Regions from separate parts of the Homo sapiens genome. Here all the other regions are linked to region 2. The links are contacts of gene promoters, found by promoter capture Hi-C in blood cells and fetal thymus (Javierre and others, 2016). All regions are on one chromosome and are shown on one strand. The core of a region is centred on a gene start or on the middle of the fragment in contact, and the rest is flanking DNA. Distances in the headings are between cores, read along the strand shown. Region 1 has its middle 69 kb from the start of TNFSF8. Region 2 holds the start of TNFSF15 (TNF superfamily member 15). Region 3 has its middle 24 kb from the start of TNFSF8. Region 4 has its middle 40 kb from the start of TNFSF8. Region 5 overlaps TNC (tenascin C).

The links. The method cuts DNA at HindIII sites, captures the fragments that hold promoters and counts their contacts. A CHiCAGO score of 5 or more calls a contact.
Region 1: a contact is called between a fragment that was not itself captured here and the fragment with the promoter of TNFSF15 in region 2, in 12 of 17 cell types (total B cells, neutrophils, monocytes and 9 more). The highest score is 9.4, in total B cells.
Region 3: a contact is called between a fragment that was not itself captured here and the fragment with the promoter of TNFSF15 in region 2, in 7 of 17 cell types (naive B cells, total B cells, non-activated CD4 T cells and 4 more). The highest score is 8.4, in naive B cells.
Region 4: a fragment that was not itself captured here is called in contact with the fragment with the promoter of TNFSF15 in region 2 in 8 of 17 cell types (total B cells, monocytes, non-activated CD4 T cells and 5 more); the score reaches 8.1 in total B cells.
Region 5: a fragment that was not itself captured here is called in contact with the fragment with the promoter of TNFSF15 in region 2 in 2 of 17 cell types (monocytes and neutrophils); the score reaches 6.9 in monocytes.

The regions. Positions count from the first base shown.
Region 1 is chr9:114,997,799-115,000,498 of GRCh38, forward strand. No RefSeq gene overlaps it. Among named protein-coding and RNA genes, the nearest start is that of TNFSF8, 69 kb to the left of the region's middle. The HindIII fragment of the contact is 2,567 bases long and covers 153-2,700 here.
Region 2 is chr9:114,804,589-114,807,288 of GRCh38, forward strand. TNFSF15 (TNF superfamily member 15) reads right to left here and starts at 1,451. Exons shown (of 4, transcript NM_005118.4): 1 at 1,215-1,451. The coding sequence starts at 1,424. The HindIII fragment of the contact is 3,139 bases long and covers 1-1,670 here.
Region 3 is chr9:114,952,778-114,955,477 of GRCh38, forward strand. No RefSeq gene overlaps it. Among named protein-coding and RNA genes, the nearest start is that of TNFSF8, 24 kb to the left of the region's middle. The HindIII fragment of the contact is 474 bases long and covers 1,159-1,632 here.
Region 4 is chr9:114,969,322-114,972,021 of GRCh38, forward strand. No RefSeq gene overlaps it. Among named protein-coding and RNA genes, the nearest start is that of TNFSF8, 40 kb to the left of the region's middle. The HindIII fragment of the contact is 3,315 bases long and covers 1-2,700 here.
Region 5 is chr9:115,043,800-115,046,499 of GRCh38, forward strand. TNC (tenascin C) reads right to left here. Exons shown (of 28, transcript NM_002160.4): 17 at 2,611-2,700. Among named protein-coding and RNA genes, the nearest start is that of TNC, 73 kb to the right of the region's middle. The HindIII fragment of the contact is 7,382 bases long and covers 1-2,700 here.

The DNA.
Region 1 (2,700 bases), core at 186-2,685, 190 kb after region 2:
GCCCCTGAAGACCTTCCAGTGGGACAAGGTGTGGAGGCGGAAGACAGTGATATTAATTATCCTGACCCTGTGTAGGCCTAACCTAATGTGCGTATTTGTATCTAGTTTTTAACAAAAAGTTTTAAAAGTAAAAAAATAAAAAAAATAGAAAAAGCTTACAGAATAAGGATATAGAGAAATCAACTATTTTTGTACAACTGTACAATGTGTTTGTTTTACACTAAGTATTTTACAAAAGACTCAAAAAGTTTTAAAAAATTACAAAGTTTATAATGTGAAAATGTTATAGTAAGTTAAGGTTAACTTACCGAAGAAAGAAAAAATTTAAAAAATAAATTTAGCATAGCCTAAGTGTACAGTGTTTATAAAATCTGCAGTAATGTACGGTAATGTGCTAGACATTCATGTTTGCTCACCCCTCATTCACCAACAGAGCAACTCCTAGTCCTGCAAGCTCCATTCATGGTAGGCACCCTATTCAAGTGTACCATTTTTAAATCTTTTATAGTTTATTTTTACTGTACTTTTTCTATGCTTAGATACATAAGTACTTACCGCCGTGTTACAATGATCTACAGTATTCAGCTCAGTAACATGCTATACAGGTTTGTAGCCTAGGAGCAATAGGCTATACCATATAGCCTAGGTTTGTAGTAGGCTGTATCATCTAGGTTAGTGTAAGTGAACTCTATGATGTTTGTACAACAACAAAATTGCCTAATGATGGATTTTTCAGAATTGAGTGTGATGCATGACTGTACTTTTTTCCTCTGAATTCCCTTCCATTTTTCCCCAACATCCTTTTTTTAAAATGGAAATTTTTATTGAGATAATTATAAATTCACATGCAATTATGAGAAATAATAGAGATCAATAATAAGAAGATGAATAACCTAATTAAAAGGTGGGCAAAGAGTTGGAATAGACATTTTTCCAAAGAAAATACACAAATGGCCAATAAGCACATGAAAAGACGCTCAACCTCATTAGCCATCAGGGAAATGCAAATTAAAACCACAATAAGATACCACTTCACACCCATTAGGAGGTCATAATAAAAAAAGACTAATAATAACAACCGTTGATGAGAATATGGAGAAATTGGAATCCTCCTTCCAATGATGGGTATGTAAAATGATGCAGATGTTTTGGAAAACAGTCTGATAGTTTGTCAAAAGGTTAATTGTAGAGTTAGTTACCATAGATTCAGCAATTTCATTCCTAAGTATATACTCAAGACAACTGAAAACATATGTCCACTCAAAGACCTGTACATGAATATTCATAGTAACATTATCCATAGTAGCCAAAAATCGGAAAAACCCAAATAATGTCTGTCAAATGAGGAATAAATAAATACAATGGATAATAATTTAGTAATAAAAAAATGAAATATTGACACATGCTACAATAAATGTTCAGTAAAATAAGTCAGTTATAAAGGACCACATAATTTTATGACTCTTCTTATATGAAATTTACACAATAGGCAAATCTGCAGAGACAGAAAGTAGATTAGCAGTGGCCTATGGCTTGGGAAATGGTGGGGTCAGAAAGTAATGGTTAAGGAGTGAGGGGTTTCTTTTTGGGATAATGAAAATTCTCTACAATTGATTGGGGTGATAGACACAAAACTCTGTGAATACACTAACAGTCATTGAATTGTAGAATTTGAACGAGTGAATTGTATGGTATTTGAATCAATAAAAAAACAAACTGTTTTTAAAAATAGAAATAATACGGAAAAAATCTGTGTACTCCTTGCCCAGTTTCCCCCAATGGTAGTATCTTGCCAAACTATAGCACAATAGGAAATTAAGACAAGGATATTGAGATTGATGCAATCCACTGGTCTCATGTAGATGTCCCCTGTTTAACTCGTTCTCTTTCCTCTGTCTCTCTCTTTCTGTGTTTACTTGTATACATTTTATCACAAATGTAGATTTGTGGATCCACCCTCACAGTCAAGATACTGAACAGAGTACTGCCTGTTTTAAAGCTCTGTTCACTGTAGGTTCTGTCTGAAGCAGCACTCCAGAGACCTTTAGTTTTTCCTCACTATTAATAATCAGACGTGAGGCAGCTCCCCCACTTGCCTCCACAGCTTCCCACCCCTCCTCATCGGGGTCAGAGGCAGAACTCACAGAGAAACATGAATTCTCACCCACACAGGAGGGATGCAAGTTTGGGATCTCAGGCACCATTCATCTAGATTCTAGAGTCACCCACACTTAGGAGGAGGAAAGTATCTTACCAAAGGAAGGAACGTGAATTCTGGAAGAGGGATACGCCCCCGTGTCTCCATACCTCGCTTTTTCCTCCCACCAATTTCGGAAGTGATTTCTATAACTCCCAGGCCCGGTCTGCAAATTGTCAGCGCTTTTGGAGATCCGGTATTTATTGGGTCGCCACTAGCAAACACTCTCAGGGAAAGGACTGGCAATGAATCATCTGTACTAATCCCTGTGTTTTCATCAGTCTTGCTTCGGTGCAAGGGGACAGCCCCGGTTGTTCTTCTATATCATCATCACTTTGGTTTCTCTCAAAATGTTTGCTCAGAAAAAGCCCAGAGTTTGGCCTCGGTTCACTTTGGACTTCCAGGGGAATTTCCCGTCCTCCTTGGACTCCATGGGTGAAGCTGTTTGAACATTCGCTCCTTACTCAGCAGTGCAGATGGCAAAGCCGGTGCCAGCACAGATG
Region 2 (2,700 bases), core at 201-2,700:
CAGTTTGACTTCCAGCAGAAACTGGCCCCTTGGTGGTCAAAGGGTCAAAGTCTGACTTCCCATGACCTGCGGTTCTTCTTTAACATAAACAGCATTTCCGGTTTGTCTGCATATTTCTACATTTTATGAGCAATGGCATCTGGCCATGAACGCTGCTGCCTGAATCACAGTCTGTTTGTTGACCCTGATGGGGCAGCGAGAATTACAGATTTTCCATGGCTTACTTGTGGTGTCTATGCTTTGAAACTGGCCAGGATTGCTTAGAGGCTAGGTTTCCAGTTAAACCCATTGAAAACCCATTTTTTTCCCTTTGCAATTTAATACTTTGAACTGAAATGAAATCAGCCACCATAGATTATGAAGGGACATTTTTAAAAAGGATATTACTGGAAAGACTCATTCCTTAGGTTTTGAGGTACATCTTTGTTGTTCCCAGCCAAGAATTATGTTTTCTTCTTGACACCTATCGCTGCCCCTACCATTGTTCTCCCTAGACTTCATATTCTTTTTCTGACTAGGCTTCTCCCAGGCCTCAGCAAGACCTTAGAGATAGACAACCAGGCAGGAGGTTCTTTCTTAAGCTCTAAAAAGAGAAAAAGTTCTAAACCCAAGAAAAAGAGTGGGTAAAGAAATTATAGCATCCACATATAGGAATGTGTATCTATAGCATCATGTTGTTGTGAATTCATTAGCATATAAATAAAATCATAATATATTAGCAGACTCAGAATAATCTCGTCTCATTAAAAAATCCGTTTTATATCTGGCATATAATTCTGTACAGAATTATATATCCCAAACTGTTAACAGTGGTCAGCTATAAGAGTTATGGGTAATGATGACTTTCTTCCTCTCCTTATCTGTATTTTCTAACTTTTTTCAATGACCGTGTTAGTTATGTAATTTTAAGTTTTTTTCTTAAATAAAAAGAATCTTCCCAAATTACCAGTATACTATGATTATAATTATCTAAAAAATATGAGGCTGAAGGTTATCCCCACAGTAAAAGAAGGGACTGTTCATTCCCTAGAAATATTGAGAATAAACACCAAATTGAACCTCTCCACCCCTCCCACTCTACATTTCCTCTGCATGTAGAAACAAGAAATGTGATACATCAAGAAACTCTATCCTCTGTCCAGAGCTGAAATAGTTGCCACTCACTGCAGAGAGTCCACTGCTCCTCCCCAAGGTCAGAGTGCCATGTGGCTTACCTGGAACTGCACACAGGCCTCTCCCTGGGCCCGGAGCTGGCTGACAAGCAGGTATGTGGTGAGTCCTGCAAGGAAGGGGAGCAACACCAGGCAGCAGGTGAGAGCCCAGCGTGCGCTGCTGCTCCTGGCCTTGGGCCTGCAGCTGCCGTGCTCTGGCAGCATTTCCACACTGGCTGTTTCCCCAAAGCTCAGTCCCAGATCCTCGGCCATGCTCCTGCTGCTCCTGGAGGCACCTCTGACTCCTGGGCAGAGAGAGCCCCCATTAAATAGAAGACCAGCTCTCACAGTGGGTGACTTAATCACTCAGTCTCCTCCTTCCCTTTTCCTCTCCCCTCCCCTCTTCAAGAGCACACTGTGGCCCTACCCTGCTAGAGAATGCACCGCCTACAACAGAAACCAAGTTTGGTTTGAGGAAAAAAAAAAAAAAAAAAAAAAGAAGAAGAAGGAGAAGAAGAAAGCTTTCCCAAGCATATTTATATACAGTATGCTCATGTGCTCCTTCCTTCGTTTACAGAAGGAAGTTAGGAAAGTCCCTGAAGGAGGAGAGAAAGAATTCATCAAGTCAGTGGGTGGGGCAAATTAAAATATACCTGTTCCCTGCACTGGAGGCTTACCAGCTGTGCCAGTCTGGGGAGTGTGCTTCTGGAAGTGAAAGTGAGGGATGAGAGGTGTGTGGTTTGCAGATTGGGAAACGGAAATCACATTTGCATCAGCTCTTTGCAAAGTGCTGCCTAGCCCTCTGTCATTTTGAACCTCATAGAAATTCATTCTCAGTGTACAGATGGGAATAGCAAAGTTCTAAAAGGTGAAGGCACTTGTCCTAGGTCATCCAAGGATGAAGACAGAGGAGCTAGGAAGATGACCTAGTTCTAAATCACGGCTTGGAGTTGTAACCTCTAGCACATGACTGCCCATGAAAGGAAAGTATTTCCAGTCTGCATTGACCATTGTTTAATCAGAGTATGAGGCCACAGATCGAGGTGACTGTCTGTGAGGGTAGAACATTAACCACTACTCCCTGATTAGTCTAAAGTTAATTGATCATGTGATGTGCTTTGCCTGCAGTTGGGTGTGGGGGCCACAACATGTAATAAAAGATTATATTTATTAAGTGCTTACTTTGTGCCAATCACTGCTCTAAGTTAAATACATCAATAAAATTATTCAATCCTGAGATAAATTTTGTGACAATAAAGCTATCATTCTCATTTTACACATAAGAAAATAAAGCACAGACGGCAAGTGGTAGAGCCAGGATTGGGACTCAGGCAGGCTGGCTGCTGGCTTCTTCACCATCACACTTCACCATAGGTACTGCTGGATCATGCATGTTCATAAATACCTGCACTGTCTTTACCCAGGAGTGGGTAAGACCCTGCAGTGAGGGGGTTGAGGGGGCTTCCTGGAGAAAGAGGTGGTGTTGGAACTCGGCCTTAGAGCTCAGGGAGGGTTGATCTCAGAGGAAAGTAAAGGACCCTGGGAAAAG
Region 3 (2,700 bases), core at 146-2,645, 150 kb after region 2:
CTAAAACCAATGTTGCTCTTAGCATTTTTTTAAATGTTATTTTTTCATAAAAATATGTTAAACTATTTCTGTAACTCTTTACCTATTAATTTATTTTAAAATAATAATAACCCATGAATCCCACTGCAACAGGATTATTGCTGTTGTTTTAAAATAAATTAATAAGTACAGATTTTTTAAGTTTCTCAGTTTTTATTTCTAATAATATTCATAGATAAAGCCGTATGCACACAAGTTTTTTGGAGTCCTCAATTTTTAAAAGGCTACGGAGTTTTGAGACCAAAATGACTGAAAACTACTGACTACATTAACGTTTAGGAGACATTGTTGATTCTGTGCTGCCTACTCCCAGTGCAATAAAAGTAATTTGTAATTAATCCTTAGTAATTCTGACAAGAAAATGCCAACAGCAATGATGTGAAGGCATCCTGCTGCTTTTAAAGGAAGCAAGACTTAATATGCAGAGAGTTAAGAGCTATTTCACAAAAATAATTACATCTGGGTTCACTTTAACCCAAGGGCATGGATTGCAAAATGTAATTAGAGCACATTTTCTCAAATATTAATTGCTATTTCTTTAATAGAGGAAAATCATAATAGAAAAAAATAAAAAAGGAACTCCACCTCTCGGAATTTCACTATGCCAGGCTTCTGGCCAAGGGCATGTGATGGCTTCTTTTCAGCAGTCTTGAAGGGGTCTCCTCACAAGCAAAGCAATGCAATCTGCATTGTGATCCTGATTCTGCTATCAGCTTGCTGCTCTCCCTGGGTTCCATTTTCCTCATGGAGGTAGGGAGAGAGTATCTCTTGGGTCCTTCCTTGAGAGACTCATCTGTATTGAGACATCTGAAACAGAATGAGGAGCGGATAAAGAGGGCATTTAGGAAGCCAATGCAGTGATGGCCAAGACCAAGACTTTGGATTTAGTCAAAGAGAGGCCCATAGGAGCCCAAGGAGAGATTGTAGGAAATCTTGCATCCAAAATTCCAGGAGGGATTAAGGGAAAGTAGTGGGTATGTATAAGGAGCAAAGTAGGAGTTTACTTGAGAAGAAGAAGCTGTCACATAGTTGATGAGAGCAGGCAATCCCTGAGTAGCACATGGCCACTTCCAAATCCAGCAAGGACATTGGGGAGGTCCCCTTGCTGGCTTATGTCTAAGCTTGACATGTCATCCTACAGGAAACACATACAGTCTGGCTCCACTTTCTGACAGTACGGTAACTTCTTTTGTTAGGTTATGGACTGGAATCTGTTTATAGGCAAAAATCTTAAAAGGAAGAAACATATGCCAAATGTTGGTCTCAGTCTTGCGACACATTCTTGTGTTTATGGCATCATCCAGTGACTCAGCGTTGCTTTTTGGATAGGGTACAAATGCTTCATGGTCTCTTTCCTGCTGTCTTTGCAAGTTTGCTCCTGAGGGCTTCTGCAGGCACACTCTCCCCTTCAGCTGATCGTAACGACTTCAGATCCTTTAAGTCCCAACGGAGCTCGCTCTCACACCCAAGCCTTTGCACATGCTGGTCCTTCTACCTGGAGGCCCATTCCCCTAAACTGGCTGACTGGCTAGCTTTCAAGTTCTCAGTTTAAATGTCATCTTCTTAGAACCACCTTCCCTGCAGACTAAAGTAAGCTTATAGTTTATCTACCTCCATTATTCTCTCTCATGGTACCTCGTTTTAGGGCTTCATAATACCTATCATATTTTATAATTTTTGAGATTGAGTATTTTTGGAAATTAACTGCCACTTTATCAAGTTAAAAAACATGCTGAAGGTTTATAATGAAAACAGCAGTGCTCTGCCTATGAATCTCTACCTCACTTGGTCCTGCTCTCCAGAGAAATCACTTGGAACTGTGCTAGCTGTCTCTTCTAATACATGCCTCAGTATTTCTAGCAAATATGCTTATATTGTTATATATTGATTTATTAATATTAGACTTCTACTGATTTTCTGCTATAAAAGGAAAATTTAGATCTTCTATACATCTCTTCATTTCTCCTCTTGCTTTAATATTCATTTCACAATTTTTGGATAAATCCAAATCATTGTTTATGTTTTTATGATTATACAAAAATTATTTGCAGAGTCCAAGTAGTATACTAGGATCATATATTTTCTTGTCCAACTTTATTCTTCCTAAAATTGCCTGTTTACCTCCAGTTGGTGTTGTTTGTTCTACATTTATTTTTATCTTTTTTTCACCCATTCCATCAGATCACTAATTAGTTTTTCCTTTTAAATCAGGCGTTGGCAAACTCTTTCTATAAAAGATCATATAGTAAATATTTTTAGACTTTTTGGTCCAGACAGCCTCTGTTGCAACTACTCAACTCAGCTGTTAAAGTCATGGGCAATATGCAACTGAGCTGCAGACAATATGTAAATGAAGGGGGGCAGCTGGCCATGTTCCAAAAAACCTTTATTTACAAAAGCAGGTGGTAGGCAGGATTTGGTCCACGGACTGCAGTTTGTCAACTCCTAATCAAAATGATAAAATAGACCAGATATTATTTTTTTGTAATGCTTTACTTTCCCAAAGCCCTGTCCTAGAGCCCCCTTGCCTGCGTTGCTATCTGTACTGCTGGTTCTCTTTGTGTCCTACCCTGCTGGCATCCTGGAACTTCCCCCCACTGTTTTCCTGTTTTAGACCCCTTGTTTTTTGGACCTCCGCACTTCCTCTTTCTTGTTTCATTC
Region 4 (2,700 bases), core at 169-2,668, 160 kb after region 2:
CCTACATCTTAGGGGCCATCACTAGTGTCTTGTAGATAGGGAGCCAAACAATTTTGTTGAAAGAAAGAACAAATAATGCAGAAAGGCTGCTTGTCCCCGAGTATTTGTTCTCCACTTCTTCCTCAATAATGCACCACCTAGAATCACCTGGATACAGAAGCCCAGAACAAACTACATTTCCCAGACTTCCTTGCAGCTAGATGTGCTCAATTCTGACCAATGGGATGGAAATAGAATTAATGTTGACTTTTTTTTTTTCCAGGAAATCTTAGAGTGAGAGGACATAATTTTCTCCTTCCAATATCTCCTTCTGGCTGACTAAGATAAAATGGATAAATGGGTAAGATATTTGGAACTTGGATCATAAAATGGAGTTACATGTTGAGAATTGCAGTGCATTGAGAAGCATGGTGTCCAGGTTATCTGCCAATAGTCAAGCCTCTATGCAGGCTTTTAACTGTGTATGTTTACATAAGCATGAGAGACAGATATATTTCTATTTTGTTTAAAACACTCTTATTTTTGGTTTACAAATTGTTGTAGCTGAACTTAATACACGGGAACATTTTCAAAAGAGGGCTGGGCACAGTGGCTCACTCCTGTAATTCCAGCATTGGGAGGCAGAGTTGGGAGGATTGTTTGAGGCCAGGAGTTTGAGGCCAACTTGGGCAACATAGTGAAATCCAGTCTCTGTAAAAGACTTAAAAATTAGCTGGGCATGGTTGCATATGCCTGTAGACCCAGCTACTTGGGAGGCTGAAGAAGAAGGATCACTTGAGCCCAAGAGGTTGAGGCTGCAGTGAGCTATTATTTCACCACTGCATGCCAGCCAGGGTGACAGAGTGAAAAAGTCTCAAAAAAAAAAAAAAAAAAAAAAAAAAGAAAAGAGTACACAACTTTCATAATTTCATAATTTTTCTTTCAAGAACAGCTAATAAAAATATTTTGAGCTTGCTTACCATAAACTTCACAATCATGTATGGTAGATTTGATTTTGGGTGATGATCAGGGAGTGCCTACCTAGTTGGCCACTAGTTAATTTTTGTATAAATACAGGGTTTGCTTGATCAACAACTTGAATATTTTATACTAAGTATCTAAACTAATCCTTTTATTTTCACTGAAAACTGTTATATTTCCATTTTTTACATGAGGTTGTTAATATAAAACCAATTTGTTTTTGTGAATGAAGTGAGGAAAAGATCCATTTTTTTTTTGAAAAAAGAGATAGCTCATTATTCCAAACCACTTAATTTATAGCATTTATATACATATTTTTGCTGCTGATTTAAAATGTACATTTATCAAATGTTAGCTACTTATATCAACATTTATATTTGAAGGACAATGACTAGGAATTTTATGAATTTCATAAAAAATATAAATTCACAGATCCAAGATACTCAATAAACCTCAAGCTGAAATAACACAAAGAAAGCCACACAAAAAACCCATATTAATTAAATTCCTGAAAACAAGTGAAGAGAAAAACCTTAAAAATAGAAAAAATATGCATAAAGAAACAAATATACAAATTAATTTCCCCTCAGAAACTATGTATTTCAGAAGAATGGAAAAACATCTTTAAAATGCTGAAAGAAATTATAAACTTAAAATTGTATATCTGACCAAAACATTATTCAAAATTAAAGGCAAAATAATTTTTTTTTTCTGGAAAAAAAAAAAACCAGAAAATTTGTGGCTAGGAGACCTGCATAACAAGAAATGTTTTTTAAAAATTTAAGTCCTTAAATGGAAGAAAAATAAGTGATGAAAACTTGGATCTACACACAAAAATAAAAAGCTCCAGACATGGTAAATATAAAATACTTTTTTATTTGTTAAATTTATATAGTTCTTAAAAATAATTGATTGTTTAAAGCAAAAATCATACCAATGTATTGAGAATTTTAAGCTATGTAAGAATAAATTTTATAATAAAATAACTCACAGTATATTAGGAAGTGAATACTGTTGCAAGATTTTAAATTTATATGTGAAGTGATATAATGTTAATTGAAAGTAGACTGTGATAAAATTAAGATGCATGTTATGAACCTTAGTGAACAAAGAAATAAACAAAAAAGTATAGCTTATAAGTCAATAGTGGATTTAAAATAGAATGATAGAAAATATGCAATTAATCCAAAAGGAGGTAGGAAAGAAGAAAAAGGGGAAGAAAGAGCATATGGGATAAATTCAAAACACATAACAAAAAGATAAATTTAAACCCAATTATGTCAATAATTATATTGAGTATAAATAGTCTAAATGCTCCCATTAAAAGGCAGAGATTTCAGATTGGATAAAATGCAAGACCAACTATATGCTGCTTATAAGGAAACTATTTATAAATATACAGATAAGTTAAAATGAAAAGTACTGAAAAAGATACAATATGCATATACCAATCATAAGAAAGGTGGACTGGATATATTAATATCAGATAAAGTAGAATTCAAAGGAAGGAATATTATCAGGACTAAAGAGGGATACTTTATAATGATGTGAACATCAAGAAAACATAACCATCCTAATTTGTACCCAATTAACAGAGCTTTAAAATACATGAAACAAAAATGAACACAACTCGAAGAAGAATTAGACAAATTCACAATTATATTTGTAGTCTCCAACATTCCTTTTCAAGTAGTCGACAAAAAAAGACAGAAAATCACCAAATATAGAAGAATTGAACAA
Region 5 (2,700 bases), core at 64-2,563, 240 kb after region 2:
TCTGCCAACCTGGTGTACTCGCACTATTGCTTTGACTGAAAACCTCATTGGTGTAGGTACATTTTAGTAGGTGTATCTTATGGCCAAACACATTAATAGCTAATATGGTTACTGTGGGTAAAGAAATTCTGCTAAATACTTGACATTCATGATCTTATGTAAACCTCGTGGCTGACCTTTGAGTTAAATTCTATTTTCCAGATGAAGGAATTGAGGTAGAGCCATGATGAAACTCCAAGGACACTGTCCCATGGTTGTTGGCTTAACCACCAGGCAACACTGTCTCCCACTGCCCTTTCTACTGCCCTGGGCACCCAGGGCTGGCAGCTTGTGCTATGGAGAGGTACCTTGTGAGTGAGAGGAGGAGCTACAGCAGGGCCTTCTCAGGAGGAAGAGGGATAGGACATTACAGAGAAGAGTTTACAATGGTATGAGGGAGGAAGAGAGGAGAGGAGAAAGGATTAAAAAAAAAAAACAAAAGGGGAAATTTATAAACTTGATGAGGTGAAGATAGAAATTAGGCATCTTCTGTGCTCAAGAGCCCCCTTTCCTGTCTTCTCCTGGTCCTGGAGCACAGGCATGTAGACACACACACACACACACACACACACACACACAAGCACGCACGCGCATGGGCACCTCTCTTTGGCTATAAGCTACTAGGCTCTAGAGAAGAAAATCAAAGAGAGGGCTTTCCAAAAGAGCAGGGTCTGCCTTGCCTTTTTTTTTTGTTGTTCTTAAAAAAAATTCAATTCATGATTATTCATTCTCTTTTTTGCTTTAGAACTGCAGGGCTTCTAGAAAAAAAAGATCAGCAAAACAAATCAATGATCAGAAGAAGTAAACTTCGAAGAACACTGTTTATAAACCAAGATCAAAATCAAGGCTCTGCCTCTGATCTGGAGTCGTTTTATGGGCAGCCACAGGGAGGAGGAGACTGAGACCTGCATCCCAGGATAGGGTGTCCCTGTTAATAAGAAACAGGGTTTTTCCCTCTTACTAGGTTGCTGCCTGGATTCTAGCATTTTCTCCAAGCCTACAAATACTGATTATTATTTTTACATGGGTGATTTCTTGCCACTTATTAGGTCCTGAAAACTTAACAATATAAAATATCTATCTTTAGACAAAAAGGAGAGGTTTTGGCAAATGTCATGCCTATGCCTGTCAGAGATGGCAAGTAGCTATATGCATTGGTTTTCTCTCATCCAGACTGCTCATTTTAAATAGTATTAGAATAAGCTGGTCATTGGGCTTTACTCCAAATCTAGCTCTATGATCATAGAAAAATCATTTCACCATTCTGGTCCTCAGAGTCTTCATGCACAAACAGAAGAGGTTGAGCTACATCATCTCTCAGGTCCCTTTTATCTCTCCTGGTGATTTTGTGGTTCTGTCCCCTGGTTCCCTTTGAAGCAGCCATCTCCAGCGAATGCTATGTCTCTGCATCTCCCTCAGTTTCATGAAATAATTTACTTGACTTGTTGGAGGTTTTTCCTTTTCTCTTTAAAAAGTCATGTTCATCTTAGTATTATTATTATTACAAAGAGTCATATTATTACTACTGTTATTATTATCATTATTTGAGACAGAGTCTTGCTCTGTCGTCCAGGTGGGAATGCAGTGGCACGAACACAGCTCACCACAGCCTTAACCTCCTGGGCTCAAGAGATCTTCCTGCCTCAGCCTGCAGAGTAGCTGGTACTACGGGCATGAGGCACCACACCTGGCTAAGTTTTTGATTTTTTTTTTTTTTTTTTTTTGCACAGGTAGGGTCTTACTATGTTGCCTAGGCTGGTCTCAAACTCCTGGACTCAAGTGATCCTCCTGTCTCAGCCTCCTGAAATGCTGGGATTACAGGTGTGAGCCATCACTCTGGGCCTAAGAGTCATATTATTAACCATCTTTTTTTTTTTTCTCCTTGAAACAGCTCCTATGGAAAAAGGTAATTAAACTCCAAGGACACTCTAGGTGCCTTTCAGAGTTGTTATGAGTATCAAAGTTAGAGAGCTTCATAAACAGTAGCATGTTAATCTTGCCAGCTCTCTCCTTTATCCTTGCTGATCACCGTACTGATTATTCACATGTAGCATTTTATAAATATTAATGTGTATAGATAGACGTGCTGCTTCTCCATTATCTCCCTACTTGGTATAGCTCGAACATTTGGCCAAAGAACAAGGAAGTGTATCTCTGGATAAAATGATGAGATATGATATGATGAGATGAGATATGATGAGATAATAGATAGAAGGAAGAATCTTTGGAACGTAAAAAAAAAAAGATGATAATTGTAACGATGATGATGCATTAATGGCAACGTGAATAGCTCTCATTTGCTGGGCCCTTGCTACCTGCCAGGCCTTCCGCTATGGGCTTTATATGAATTATCTCATTTAATCCTCACAACCCTATTAAGTAAATGGCATCATACTTTTTTTGCATAAGGACTTAGCCAAATTGTCCAAGGTAACACAGTCTGTAATTGAAAGAGTCAGGATCAGAGCGCCAGCCTGCCTGCATCCAAAGCTCCTGTGATTACTCAGCCCTGTGAGAAGAAGACCCCTGAGTCATGACTTTTCTCTGTTCTCTCCTGTTTATTTACAGTACCTGTTGTTGCTATAGCACTGACTGTCTGGGATCGCCTTCCTTTGCTTATTCCATAGAGTTCAATTTCGTATTCAGTAGCCTCTCTGAGAC